2 separate regions of the Homo sapiens genome follow, and region 2 is linked to region 1. The links are contacts of gene promoters, found by promoter capture Hi-C in human tissues and cell types (Jung and others, 2019). All regions are on one chromosome and are shown on one strand. The core of a region is centred on a gene start or on the middle of the fragment in contact, and the rest is flanking DNA. Distances in the headings are between cores, read along the strand shown.

Region 1 (7,101 bases), core at 2,012-4,511:
TACTCGGGAGGGTGAGGCAGGAGAATCGCTTGAACCTGGGAGGCTGAGGTTGCAATGAGCCAAGATCGCACCATTGCATTCTAGCTTGGCCAACAACAGCAAAACTCTGTCTCAAAAAAGAAAGAAAGAAAGAAAGAAAAGTATTTTATATTTCTTTACTTTTTTGTCTTTTTTCTTTTTTTCCTCTTTGTTGAGAACGGGGTCTCACTATATTGCCCAGGCAGGTCTCAAACTCATGGGCTCAAGCAATCCTCCCGCCTCTGCCCCCCTAAGTGCTGGGATTACAGGTGTGAGCCACTGCACCTGGCTAGAAAGGTAATTTTCAGATCATGTCAACAACCACAGTTGACTTTCAGGACAGGAGATGAGCCTAGGTAATGTGAGTGGGCCGCACCTGATCAGTTGAAGGTCTGAGGAGTAAACACCGAAGTTTCCTGAAGAAGGAATTCTGCCTCAAGGTTGCAACTTAGTAATTCTGCCTGAGTTTCCAGGCTTTAGGCTTTAAGACGGTAGTGTCACCTCTTACCTGAGCCTCCAGCCTAACTGGCTTGTCCTGTGGACTTCAGACTTGCCAACTCCCATGATTGTGTGAGCTAATTTCTTAAAATAAATGTGTTACACACTCTCTCTGACTCTATACATCTCTCTCTCTCTCTCTCTCCGTCTGTCTTTGTATCTCTGTGTCCCTGTCTCTCTAGTTTTCCATGTCTGTCTCTTCTCTGACTCTGTATCTTTGTCTGTCTCTACAGATCTCTTTTTTTTTTTTTTTTTTTGAGACAGTCTCATGCCATTGCCCAGCCTGGAGTGCAGTGGCACAATCTCAGTTCATTGCAACTTGTGCCTCCCGGGTTCAAGTGATTCTTGAGCCTCAGCCTCCCAAGTAGCTGGGATTACAGAAGTGTGCCACCACACCTAGCTAATTTTTTATTTTTTATTTTTGTATTTTTGATAGAGACAGGGTTTCCCCATATTGGCCAGGCTGGCCTCGAACTCGCGACCTCAGGTGATCCACATGCCTCAGCCTCCCAAAGTGCTGGGATTACAGGCGTGAGCCACCGCACCCAGCCTATAGATCCCATCTCTATCTCTCTGTGTATCTTCTATTGGTTCTGTCTCTCGGGAGACACCTGACCAATTCAGGGAGGGCTCCTGTGAGAAGTTTCTTGAGTCAAGACGCAGATGAGCAGGGGGAGCCTGCTTTGGAGATCTAGGGAAGATGGTTCCCAGCAGCAGGAAGAGGAAGTGCAAAGACCCAGGATATCTGTCTGGGGCAGAGTGAGCAAAAGCACGAGGGTCCAACCACAGAGGCCCCAGTGAAGGGCACTTCGTGTCTTAGCCTAAGCTCAGGGGCAAGCTGGCAGCAAACTGTATCTATAAAGGGCCACATAAGTGTTTTTGGCTTTCAGGGCCAAGAGGTAAAATCAAGGATATTACAAAGATACTTATGAAACAAGACAGAAGCCAAGTGCAGTGGCTCACGCCTGTAATTCTAGCATTTTGGGAGGCTGAGGTGGGCAGATCACCTGAGGTCAGGAGTTCGAGACCAGCCTGGCCAACATATAGACAACATATATGTTACAACATATATAATGGCCAACATATAATACAAAAATTAGCTATGCATGGTGGTGGGCGCCTGTAATCCCAGCTACTCAGGAGGCTGAGGCAGGAAAATTGCTTGAATCCGGGAGGCAGAGGTTGCAGTGAGCCAAAATGGCACCACTGCACTCCAGCCTGGGTGACAAAGTGAGACTCTGCCTCAAAAAAAAAAAGAAAGAAAAAGGCTGGGTGCGGTGGCTTATGCCTGTAATCCCAGCACTTTGGGAGGCCAAGGCAGGCGGATCACGAGGTCAGGAGATTGAGACCATCCTGGCTAACACGGTGAAACCCCGTCTCTACTAAAAATACAAAAAATTAGCTGGGTGCGGTGGTGGGCGCCTGTAGTCCCAGCTACTCAGGAGGCTGAGGCAGGAGAATGGCGTGAACCTGGGAGGCGGAGCTTGCAGTGAGCCGAGATCGCACCACTGCACTCCAGCCTGGGCGACAGAGCGAGACTCCGTCTCGAAAAAAAAAAAAATCCACGCTTGAATGCATGCACACTCATACATGGACCTCCCCACACACATGAACACACCCGTGCAAGTGCGCACACACACATACACGCACCAATGCACAGGCACACACACATGCACACACCTGCACACAGCACATATATGCACACCCACTTGCACATGTGATGCATGTTCACACATACACACACGTGCACATGCATGCATGTACATGGACCACATGCACATGCACACAGATGACCATACACATATGCATGCACCTGCCCACATATGCACGCACATTTACATGCCAGCACATGTATGATACACAGGCATGCGCCTGCACATGTGTACATGATACACACTTGCATGCACACAACTGAATACACACATTCACATGCACACACTGCACACATATATGCATGCAGACAAGCACACACACAGAGCACACATCCACTCCTTTATTCCACTCTTGTGTTTTTCACTGCACTTGTCACATCAAAACACAACAGAAGGCCGGGCATGGTGCGGCTCACGTTTGTAATCCCAGCACTTTGGGAGGCTGAGGTGGGTGGATCGCTTGAGGTCAGGAGTTCGAGACCAGCCTGACCGACATGGTGAAAACCCATCTCTACTAAAAATACAAAAAGCAGCCAGGCGTGGTGGCACGCGCCTGTAATCCCCGCTACTTGGGAGGCTGAGGCAGGAGAATTGCTTGAACCCAGGAGGTGGAGGTTGTAGTAAGCTGAGATCGCGCCACTGCACTCCAGCCTGGGCAACAGAGCGAGACTCCATCTCAAAAACAAAACAAATAAACGAACAAAAAAACCCACAACGTATTATTTTCTTGTTTACGAGGTTTCTTGTCTCTCTGGCTCCACCAGAAGAGGAGCAGGGACCCTTCTTGCTGTTGTTCATTGCTGCATCCCCCACACCGAGAGCAGAGCCTGGCATGGGCAGAAAGTCCTCAGTCGATATTTGGTGGCCCCAAGCGAATGAAGCATCCAAGAAGGGAAAGCTGGGGGCTCCCCACTGCACTTGCCACCTGAGTCACATTTTCAGAAGCCTCTGGAAAGTGTGAGAGTCTGTATGAGTGAGAGTGAGACAGGGCCAAGACCGGGGGCGGCGGGTACCGGAAGAAGAGGAGGGTGAGTGGGGGAAGGGGTGGGGCTGAACCCCAGCTCTAAAGGCGGCCCACGGGTGCCTGTCCGCAGCGTGCACAGCCCAGGAGTGTTGAGCAATTTCGGTTTCCTCTGAGGTTGAAGGACCCAGGCGTGTCAGCCCTGCTCCAGACACCTTGGGCATGGAGGAGAGTGTCGTACGGCCCTCAGTGTTTGTGGTGGATGGACAGACCGACATCCCATTCACGAGGCTGGGACGAAGCCACCGGAGACAGTCGTGCAGTGTGGCCCGGGTGGGTCTGGGTCTCTTGCTGTTGCTGATGGGGGCCGGGCTGGCCGTCCAAGGCTGGTTCCTCCTGCAGCTGCACTGGCGTCTAGGAGAGATGGTCACCCGCCTGCCTGTGAGTGGGACCGGGGGGCTGAGAGCAGGTGGAGGTGAGGGGGGCTCCCCTGTGTCATTGTGGGTCACTGTGTGTCTGTGTGTGTGTGTGTGTGTGTGTGTGTGTGTGTGTGTAGGACAGGGCACAGGCTGAGAGCAGCTGGCTTGACTGGTTGCTGCTCCCAGCCTTGGGCAAGTGAATTCACCTCTCTGAACCTCAGTGTCTTCATCTACAAAATAAGGGCAGTCTCTTCATAGGGGACGAAGTATGCTATGGCATGTGTAGTACCAGACGATGCCAGCTCCACCCGTCGGAACTGACACCCCAACACTGCCATGCACACCCCTGTGCACACACGCATGCATTTTCTCTGTACTTTTTTATTTTTGAGACGGAGTTTCACTCTCGTTGCCCAGGCTGGAGTGCAATGGCATGATCTCTGCTCACCGCAACCTCTGCCTCCCGGGTTCAAGTGATTCTCCTGCCTCAGCCTCCCGAGTAGCTGGGATTACAGGCATGCGCCACCACGCCTGGCCAATTTTGTATTTTTAGTAGAGATGGGGCTTCTCTATGTTTGTCAGGCTGGTCTCAAACTCCCGACCTCAGGAGATCCACCCGCCTCAGCCTCCCAAAGTGCTGGGATTACAGGTGTGAGCCACTGCGCCTGGCCTTCTCTGGTACTCTTATTACTGTTACTGCGATTGTCATTAATTCTCTGACCATTTCCATCTGTGGAAATTTCTCGGTCTGCTTCCAGCTGGCTGTGGATGTGTCCGCCTGTCTGTGTGCCTCACCTGGGGGTCTATGTGTGCCCAACACCATACCCCTGTGGGCTTGGCCCCTTTTGTGTCCTGGGTCTGGATCCGGTGGCCACACATTCGTGTCCATATACCCATGTGGACGTATGTGCGTGTACCCACATGTCCACACACCCGCCTAGCTGCAGCCGGTGTATTCACGTTGTCTGTCTTTGTCTCTGGGTCTCTGTGTCTGTAGACGCACATGGATCCATAAACCACAAACCACATGTCCACGCATCTGAGCCCACATGTGTCTTCTCAGCGTCATGATGATGTTGAGGTCTGTGCCCTGTGGCAGGTGCTATATCCCAAGGGTGGTGTCCATGTGTCCAGCCATCTCGCTGTCTGCATTTTTTTTTTTTTGAGACAAGGTTTCTCTCCCATAGCCCAGGCTGTAGTGTAGTGGTGCAGTCTTGGCTCACTACAACCCCACCTCCCAGGTTCAAGTGATTCCCTTGTCTCAGCCTCCTGAGCAGTAGCTGGGATCACAGGCATCCGCCACCGTGCCTGGCTAATTTGTGTATTTTTAGTACAGACGGGGTTTCACCATGTTGGCCAGACTTGTCTCGAACTCCTGACCTCAAGTGATCCACCTGCCTCAGCCTCCCAAAGTGCTGGGATTACAGGTGTGAGCCACCACGCCTGGCCTTGTCCCTGTATTTTTAAATATTACTTATTTATTTAATTAATTACATATTTATTTATCTTAGAGACTGTGTCTCACTCTGCTTCCCAGGCTAGAGTGGAGTGGCACGATCATAGCTCACTGCAGCCTTGAACTCCTGGGCTCAAGCAAGCCTCCTGTCCCAGCTTCATGAGTAGCTGGGACTACAGGCATGCACCACCATGCCTGGCTAATCTTAAAAATTTTTTGTAGAGATGAGGTCTTGTTGTGTTGCCCAGGCTGGTCTTAAACTCCTGGCCTCAAGCTGTCCTCCCACTTTGGCCTCCCAAAGTGCTGGGATTACAGGTGTAAGCCACTGCTCTGGGCAATGTTATTTATTTATTAAACCCTTTTATTTATTTATTTATTTTTTGAGATAGAATCTCACTCTGTCACCTAGGCTAGAGTGCAGTGGCACAATCTGGGCCCACTGCAACCTCCCAGGTTCAAGCGATCCTCCTGCCTCAGCCTCCAGAGCAGCTGGGATTACAGGCACCCACCACCAGGCCCAGCTAATTTTTGTAGTTTTAGTAGATACAGGGTTTTACTGTGTTGGCCAGGCTGGTCTCGAACTCCTGACCTCAGGTAATCTGCCCACCTCGGCCTCCCGAAGTGCTGGGATTAGAGGTGTGAGCCAATGCACCCGACCTATTAAACCTTTCTCTAGTGCATACTATGTGCCAAGCACTGTAATAATGCCTTACATATGTGAATTCATTAAACGCCAAGCAGACACGATTCGTAACTCCATTTACATAGAGGGAAACTGAGGCACCAAGTGGTTGTGAGGCCTCTGGACAGGGGGTGTGTGTCTGCAAGTGAGAGTATGTGGCCCTGTGTACGTGTCTGAGGGTGGTGTCGGTGGCTATGGTCCTCATGTCTCATAGCCATGTGTGAGCAATGCGAGGGCGTGGCCCCCGCTGCAGGTTCTTACCGCAGGCCCCTTCTGCATTTTCAGGACGGACCTGCAGGCTCCTGGGAGCAGCTGATACAAGGTGAGTCAGGGTCCTGGCCCCAGGGAAGGAGGTGTGATGATTCCCATGCCACCCCCACCCCTCGGTCAATTGCCCAATATGATTTGCACAACTGGCCAAATCCTCACAGGTGCCCCTCCCCCAGGCCTGAGAAGCAGAAGTTTGGGTCACTCCGGAAGGGGTGGGGTTGATTCCAGGAGGTGTACACGGTGGCCCTTTAGGAGGCTGGCTTTTTACCTCCACTGTCTTCGTCTCTAACCTCTGACCCTCTTTCCCCAGAGCGAAGGTCTCACGAGGTCAACCCAGCAGCGCATCTCACAGGTGAGAGGGACCCTGGATCCTGGCAAGGGGCAGGGGTCAGGGCGTCTCGGGAAGACCAGATAAACGCCATACATATCAGTGTATTCATTCATTCATTGCTTATTTACTCACAGAGTTGCTCAGAACATAGGCTGCAAGTGCTATGTATTTCCAGTTTTATTTATTTTATTATTTTTTATTTCTATTTATTTATTTATTTATTTATTTATTTATTTTTGAGACAGTCTCACTCTGTTGCCCAGGCTGGGGTGCAGTGGCATGATCTCGGCTCACTGCAGTCTTCGCCTCCCGGGTTCAAGCGATTCTTCTGCCTCAGCCTCCCAAGTACCTGGGATTACAGGCATGCACCACCACACCCGGTTAATTTTGTTGTATTTTTAGTAGAGACAGGGTTTTGCCATGTTGGCCAGGCTGGTCTCAAACTCCCGATCTCAGGTGATCCTCCCGCCTTGGCCTCCCAAAGTGCTGGGATTACAGGCGTGAGCCACCGGGCCCGGCCTAGTTTTATTAATTTAATGAACTCTCATATAGTGCTTATGCTGTGTTATGTGCTGTGACACGCTTTCTACATATTAATTCATTACATTCCAAGCAGGTGCTATTAATATGCGCATTTTACAGAGAGGGAAACTGAGGCACACAGCGAGTACGAGGTGCCGCTTTGGTTTCTTGGTTTTGCAAACTTGCATGTTTGGACATTTTTTTTTTTTTTTTTTGAGACAGGGTCTTACTCTGTCAACTAGGCTGGAGTGGTGCTATCACGGCTCACGGCACCCTCAACTTGCCAGGTGCA
Region 2 (7,101 bases), core at 2,928-5,427, 420 kb before region 1:
AGTTCATGTCCCTACATAAGATACAAAGGGGGCCGGGCGCGGTGGCTCCCGCCTGTAATCCTAGCACTTTGGGAGGCCGAGGTGGGCGGATCACAAGGTCAAGAATTCAAGACCAGCCTGGCCAACATAGTGAAACCCCATCTCTACTAAAAATACAAAAATTAGCCGGGTGTGCTGGCGTGTGCCTGTAGTCCCAGCTACTCGGGAGGCTGAAGCAGGAGAGTCGCTTGAATCCAGGAGGCGGAGGTTGTAGTGAGCAGAGATGGCACCATTGCACTCCAGCCTGTGTGACAGAGTGAGACTCCATCTCAAAAAAAAAAAAAAAAAAAAAGAGATACAAAGGAAGCTACTGTTGGGATAATGTCATTTGGTCGTATTCCCATCAGAAACCTTAAGCTTTGGCCACAACCAGGACTCTTCATATAAAATGGTGATGGTGGTGGTGGGGAACCAGGGAAAAAGCGGAAAAAATTAAAGATTTTTTAAAAAACCCAAACCCAAAGCATAGCTGTCTTCTATTCCTGCTTTGGGACCTGGTCTTCAGGACTGAATTTAATTCTTCCACATCCATTCCACATTCTGCTTTCTCTCTGCCAGTCCCTTATCTGAATGGATTTTTATTTTTATTTTTTTTTGGGATGGAGTCTCACTCTGTCGCCCAGGCTGGAGTGCAGCGGCGCGATCTCGGCTCACTGAAAGCTCTGCCTCCCGGGTTCACGCCATTCTCCTGCCTCAGCCTCCTGAGTAGCTGGGACTACAGGCGCCCGCCACCACGCCCGGCTAATTTTTTGTATTTTTAGTACAGACAGGGTTTCACTGTGTTAGCCAGGATGGTCTCGATCTCCTGAGACCGGCCCTGAATGGATTCTTTACCCTGATAGAGTGATCTTATCTCGGATCAGGTTTTCTGGGAACAGATTTTGTGCTGGCAATTTTTTGTTTATTGGATAAAACTCCTGGGAACAACATCTTTAAAGGCATGCGAGAAGCGGAGGGGACAGATGAGGCTGACATGTAACTTGTCAACTGAGGCTGCCGTCGATCCCACAGGGAGTTCTGGTGCTGGGGTTGCCCTTCAGGGGTGTCCTACATTGAAACAAAGGCACTGGACCTTTGTACCCCCTACATCAACCAGTCACTGGAAGTAGGCAACCCCTGGAGAGAGAGCATAATCTTGGGTTGGGCACTTTCCTCTGGGCCTTGGGGAGTTCCCAGAGAGGACAGCAGCATCACCATCATCAGGCAACACCTCCAGCAGCTAGGGGAGTGCCTTAGTCTTTTCTTTTTTCTAGATGGAGTCTTGCTTTGTCACCAGGCTGGCGTGCAGTGGCAAGATCTTGGCTCACTGCAACCTCCGCCTCCCAGGTTCAAGCGATTCTCCAGCCTCAGCCTCCTGAGTAGCTGGGACTACAGGCACACGCCACCACGCCCAGCTAATTTTTTTTTTTTTTTTTGAGATGGAGTCTTTGTCGCCCAGGCTGGAGTGCAGTGGCGCCATCTCGGCTCACTGCAAGCTCCGCCTTCCAGGTTCACGCCACTCTCCTGCCTCAGCCTCTCGAGTAGCTGGGACTACAGGTGCCCGCCACCATGCCTGGCTAATTTTTTGTATTTTTAGTAGAGATGGGGTTTCACCGTGTTAGCCAGGATGGTCTCTATCTCCTGACCTCGTGATCCGCCGGCCTTGGCCTCCCAAAGTGCTGGGATTACAGGTACGCCCAGCTAATTTTTGTAGTTTTAGTAGAGACGGGGTTGCACCATGTTGGCCAGGATGGTCTTGATCTCTTGACCTCGTGATCCACCTGCCTCAGCCTCCCAAAGTGTTGGGATTACAGGCGTGAGTCACCACGCCTGGCCTTAGTGCCTTAGTCTTAAAGGAAGAATCTGGGAAATATGCCACTGAAACCATGCCTAAAGTGTTAAAGCAAAGACTAGCAGAAATTCTTGATGTGTTGGAAGCTGGTTCCTTCTGGTGGGTTCGTGGTCTCGCTGACTTCAAGAAAGAAGCCACAGACCTTCACTCTTAAAGATGGCACAGACCCAAAGAGTGAGCGGTAGCAAGGATTACTGTGAAGAGCAAAAGAACAAAGCTTCCACAGCTTGGAAGGGGACCCGAGCTGGTTGCCGCTGCTGGCTGGAGTGGCCAGCGTTTATTCCCTTATTGACCCCTCCCATGTTCTGTTTCTGTCCTATCAGAGTGCCCTTTTTTCAATCCTCCCTGCAATTGGCTGCTTTCAGGATCTTGCTGATTGGTGTGTTTTACAGACTGTTGATTGGTGCATTTTACAATCTTCTTGCTAGCTACAGAGCGCTCACTGGTGCGGTTTACAATCCTAGCTACAGAGTGCTGATTGGTGTGTTTTACAATCCTCTTGTAAAACAGGAAAGTTCTCCAAGTCCCCACTCGACCCAGGAAGTCCAGCTGGCTTCACCTCTCATTGAGTTTGCAGGATGGCAGGTAAAAAAAGAAATAACTTGCTAAAACGCTGAAACTGCCTCCACTTGTAACAAAACTGCCTAAAATCTGTGAGAACCCACATGGCCAAATGGAGTTTGTGCAGAATGAGCTTGCTGATGTCACAGTGCAAATTTCCACGTGTTTCATACAAACTCCCTTGAGTTAGTATGACTTTGCACATGGAACCCATGGGGAGGCATGAAGAGATCATTGCACCTGCCTGAGGACTTAACAGACCTTTCCTCCCACCAATCGCCTGCTAATCCCAGAATCCACGCCCTACACCTTTTCTAAGAAAATTATTGCCTTAAAGTCAGCATAAGACAAATTTGAGCTGGACTCCTGTCTCCTTGTTAACTTGCAATACAAACCTTTCCTTTTCTCAAAAATCTGATGTCATAGTATTGGCTTCTAGCACATTGGGTGAAGAGCTCTTTTGCTGGGTAGTGCCACCACTGTACCTACTGTGGTCCACCATGTGTGCCACTCAGATGCCCTGCATTCATTTTGTTTGTTTTGTTTTTGAGACAGAGTCTCCCTCTGTTGCCCAGGCTGGAGTGCAGTGGTACCATCTTGGCTCACTGCAACCTCTGCCTCCTGAGTTCAAGTGATTCTCCTGCCTCAGCCTCTGGAGTAGCTGGGACTATAGGCATGTGCCACCATACTCAGCTATTTTTTGTATTTTTAGTAGAAATGAGGTTTCACCATGTTGGCTAAGCTGGTCTCGAACTCCTAACCTCAAGTGATCTGCCCGCCTCTGCCTCCCAAAGTGTTGGGATTACAGGCGTGAGCCACTGTGCCCGGCCCCAGGATTCTTAAAGTAAGTGCCCTCAGGATCCAGGTTGGTCCCGTTGCCTGGAGAAACTGACAAGAGGAAGATCAGTGGGACAAACTGTAGACAGCCCTTTCCACCTGAACAAGTCTCAGAGATGCAATTGATGCTTATCACACTCCTTTACTTGCACCTTCCAGATTCCCTTTACCCTTGACTAGGGTGAAAATTCTAGATTTCCTTCTCACCTAGATCCTGCTGGTCTAGGTGGCTTACCTGGAGAGCTGCTCCAGATCCTTATGCCTACGGGGTCTTCACCATGCCCTTCTCAGGACATAGCTGGTGAAATTTTTTTATCTTTTTCTTTTTTGGAGACAGAGTCTCGCTCTGTTGCCCAGGCTGGAGTGCAGTGGCGCGATCTCGGCTCACTGCAAGCTCCGCCTCCTGGGTTCACGCCATTCTCCTGCGTCAGCCTCCCAAGTAGCTGGGACTACAGGCGCCTGCCAACGCGCCCAGTTAATTTTTTTGTATTTTTTGTAGAGACAGGGTTTCACCATGTTAGCCAGGCTGGTCTCGATCTCCTGACCTTGTGATGTGCCCACCTCGGCCTCCCAAAGTGCTGGGATTACAAGCGTGACCCACCACGCCTGGCCAAAATTTTTTTATCTTTAAAATTGGGGAAAGAATAGTAAGAGACATCCCAATGGATTCCGTGAATGCCAAATGTTTTCCTCCCTGCACTCATCATGTAACAGCAGCCTCAGATTCTATGGATGATAGCATTAATTACCTAAGTCAGTATGGTGACTTCTTTCCTTGTGTGCTGGTCTCATAGAAGTCACAGTTTAACATCCGATGAGACTCTTACTGTGTCTCTTGGTGGAAGTGTTTCCCTCTGGGAACCAAGTCCTTTAGGTTACTTCTCTTTTTTCTTTTTTTTTAGATGAAGTCTTACTCTGTCACCCAGGCTAGAGTGCAGTGGCATGATCTCGGCTCACTGCAATCTCCGCCTCCCGGGTTCAAGAGATTCTCCTGCCTCAGCCTCCTGAGTAGCTGGGATTACAGGCGCCCACCACTGTGCCTGGCTAATTTTGTATTTTTAGTAGAGACGGGGTTTCACCATGTTGGCCAGGCTGGTCTCAAACTCCTGACCTCGTGATCCACCGACCTCGGCCTCCCAAAGTGCTGGGATTACAGGGGTAAGCCACTGCGCCTGGCCAGGTTAATTATTTCTTTTGCTTTCCTCCCCAATGGCTCTGTTCCTCATCCTATACAGGAAACACTGGTGTTGGCAACTATGTTAGGCTTCATCGGGGAGTATCAGTGCATGGACACCACCCCAGGGTAGCTGAGCAACTGATAGAATTCCTGGGCTTGGATATGAACTTTCCATCCAGGTGATGGGCATGAGTAGATTCTGAGAAGCAAAAGGAGTGACCAATACTGGGTATCTTCCATTCGCCCCAGCAGATTCACCTCCTCTACCCTGCTGTACTTGGGATGATTAGTTACTATGAATGCTATCAACGAACTCCCTTACCTTATTGGCTTTTGGTTGAGTTTGGCAAATGGGGAACCCAAATATGATATAAGAAGAATGAAGGACAAGGAGGGCTGGCCCTGGCTATTTCTTTCTCTTTTTTGGTGGTGGTGGGGGGGTGGGGATGGAGTTTCACTCTGTCACCCAGGCTGGAGTGCAATGGCATGATCTTGGCTCATTGCAACCTCCACCTACCGGGTTCAAGCAATTCTCCTGCCTCAGCCTCCTGAATAGCTGGGACTACAGGCGCATGCCACCACACCCGGCTAGTTTTTGTATTTTCAGTAGAGAATGGGTTTCATCATGTTGGCCAGGCTGGTCTTGAACTCCTGATCTCAAGTGATCCACCCACCTCGGCCTCCCAAAGTGCCAGAATTATAGGTGTGAGCCACTGTGCCTGGCCGACCCTTACTATTTCTTGCAGAACTCGAGGCTGGATGTTGCCCCTCACTGACCTCCTGTCAGCTCCTGGAATGCAGCCCTCTCCTCGCTTGAACAACAACTTGCAGTTCTCTTCCTTTGTCCCTTCAGGCTTATGGGTGTCCTACGATCTGCCATTTGTTTGGAAGCTGGAGAACCAAGAAAGCTGGTAGTCTTGCTCCAGTCCAAGCTCAAAGACCTGAAAACAGGGGAGCCAACAGTGTAAACCCCAGTGTGAAGTCCAAAGGCTTGAGAACCAGGAGGGCCAATGGTGTAAGTTGCGAGTCTGAGTCTGAAGGCTGGAGAACCAGAAGCACCCGTATCTGAGGTGGGGAGAAGACCGATGTTCCATTTCAAGTACCTTTTGTGGTTTCCCTACATCCTGTTCACAATTCTGTGAGGAGCCCCTTGATATAAACTGCGCTTGAATCATCCCAGTTGACGTGTGTGTCAACTGTTTCCTGCTGGGACTCTTGATATTCCAACTTCCTGAACATGTAAGGAAAAGCCCTAACAATGACCTATAAAACCCCACAAGATCAGGATCTGCATCTCCGATTACCCTCTAATCCCTGAATCCCTATTTTACCTGAGTCATACTGGCCTCTGTGCTGTGGGTCTTTGCATGCCAACAGTCCTCTTGCCACAAGTTCCTACTCAATAGTCTCTCCTCAAATGCACCTTAACTGGGGGCCTTTTCCTTCCTATGCTACATAAAATGGAAAGTCCCCAGCCCTCCGTAACTCTCTCACAATGCTTTATTTTTCTGCACAACATGAATATTGTTGATTTTTCTTTTTCGATGGAGTCTTGCTCTGTTGCCCAGGCTGGAGTGCAGTGGCGCGATCTCGGCTCATTGCAACCTCCACCTCCCAGGATGAAGCGATTCTCCTGCCTCAGCCTCCTGATTAGCTGAGCGCACCACCACACCCAGCTAATTTTTTTGTATTTTTAGTAGAGATGGCGTTTCACCATGTTGGTCAGGCCGGTCTCAAACTCCTGACCTCATGATCTGCCCCAGCCTCCCAAAGTATTGGAATTACAGGCGTGAGTCACAGCGCCCGGCCATGTTGTTGATTTTTCTATAATTCACCCCTCCCCGTTAGGATGTAAGTGCCTCAATGGCAAAACTTGAGTTTCATTCACTGCTCTAGACATGGCATCTCAAACAGTGCTTAGCCACATGGAATGTACTCAATGAACAGGCTAGTGGTTATGAGAATCACCTGTCTGGATTCCAATCTGTGCTCTACCACTTACTAGCTGGTGAACTCAGGCAAGCAACCTAGACATTTCCATGCCAGTTTTCCCATCTGTAAGTTGGAGACAGTAATAGCACAGTTTGCAAGCTTATAGTGAGGACGCAGTTAATATTTATAAGGCACTTTGAAGAGCGCCTGGTCTATAGGATGGGCTAGCGAAATGTTTGATCTCTTTTTGTTAATATATTTTCATATTACAATTATTTGGTATGAAAAGGTATGGCCCCTACTGAAAATAAATAAATTCACAGGAGAATATCTAAACCTCTACGCACCTAGTTACATTACACATAAACATATATAAAGTAAAAATGACAGAATTACAGAAAGAATTTGTTAATCTACCATGCTAGTGGAAGACTTTAATATACCTCTATCACTAAGTCAGGTCGAGAGAAACAAATACAGTACAAATTGAAAAACACAGTTTGAGTACGTATGTCCATCCTGTATCCAAAAATTAGATACATAGTATACTGTTTTCAGAGAATCATGGAGCACTTATAAAAACAGATCAATAAACAGGATTAACAGATAATGCATTCACCTGGAAGCTAACACAACACCCCCCAACCAAACACACACACACACACACACACTCTCTCTCTCTCTCTCTTTGGTTTTAACCAATTAGTGGTTACTTGTGATCATG

Evidence for each region. The method cuts DNA at HindIII sites, captures the fragments that hold promoters and counts their contacts. A contact is called where the count stands out against the background at its distance.
Region 2: a fragment that was not itself captured here is called in contact with the fragment with the promoter of TNFSF14 in region 1 in 2 of the 25 tissues and cell types used here (adrenal gland and bladder).

Annotation. Positions count from the first base shown.
Region 1 is chr19:6,666,320-6,673,420 of GRCh38, reverse strand. It overlaps TNFSF14 (TNF superfamily member 14), which reads left to right and starts at 3,261. Exons shown (of 4, transcript NM_001376887.1): 1 at 3,261-3,570; 2 at 5,972-6,008; 3 at 6,267-6,308. The coding sequence starts at 3,352. RefSeq lists a silencer at 2,132-2,231 and enhancers at 2,802-3,031, 3,412-3,501, 4,402-4,591, 4,652-4,741. The HindIII fragment of the contact is 26,746 bases long and covers 1-7,101 here.
Region 2 is chr19:7,087,649-7,094,749 of GRCh38, reverse strand. It overlaps LOC124904625 (a long non-coding RNA gene), which reads left to right. Exons shown (of 3, transcript XR_007067110.1): 2 at 2,299-2,455; 3 at 5,299-6,707. It overlaps ZNF557 (zinc finger protein 557), which reads right to left. Exons shown (of 8, transcript NM_024341.3): 8 at 6,782-7,101. Among named protein-coding and RNA genes, the nearest start is that of ZNF557, 21 kb to the right of the region's middle. The HindIII fragment of the contact is 5,869 bases long and covers 1,243-7,101 here.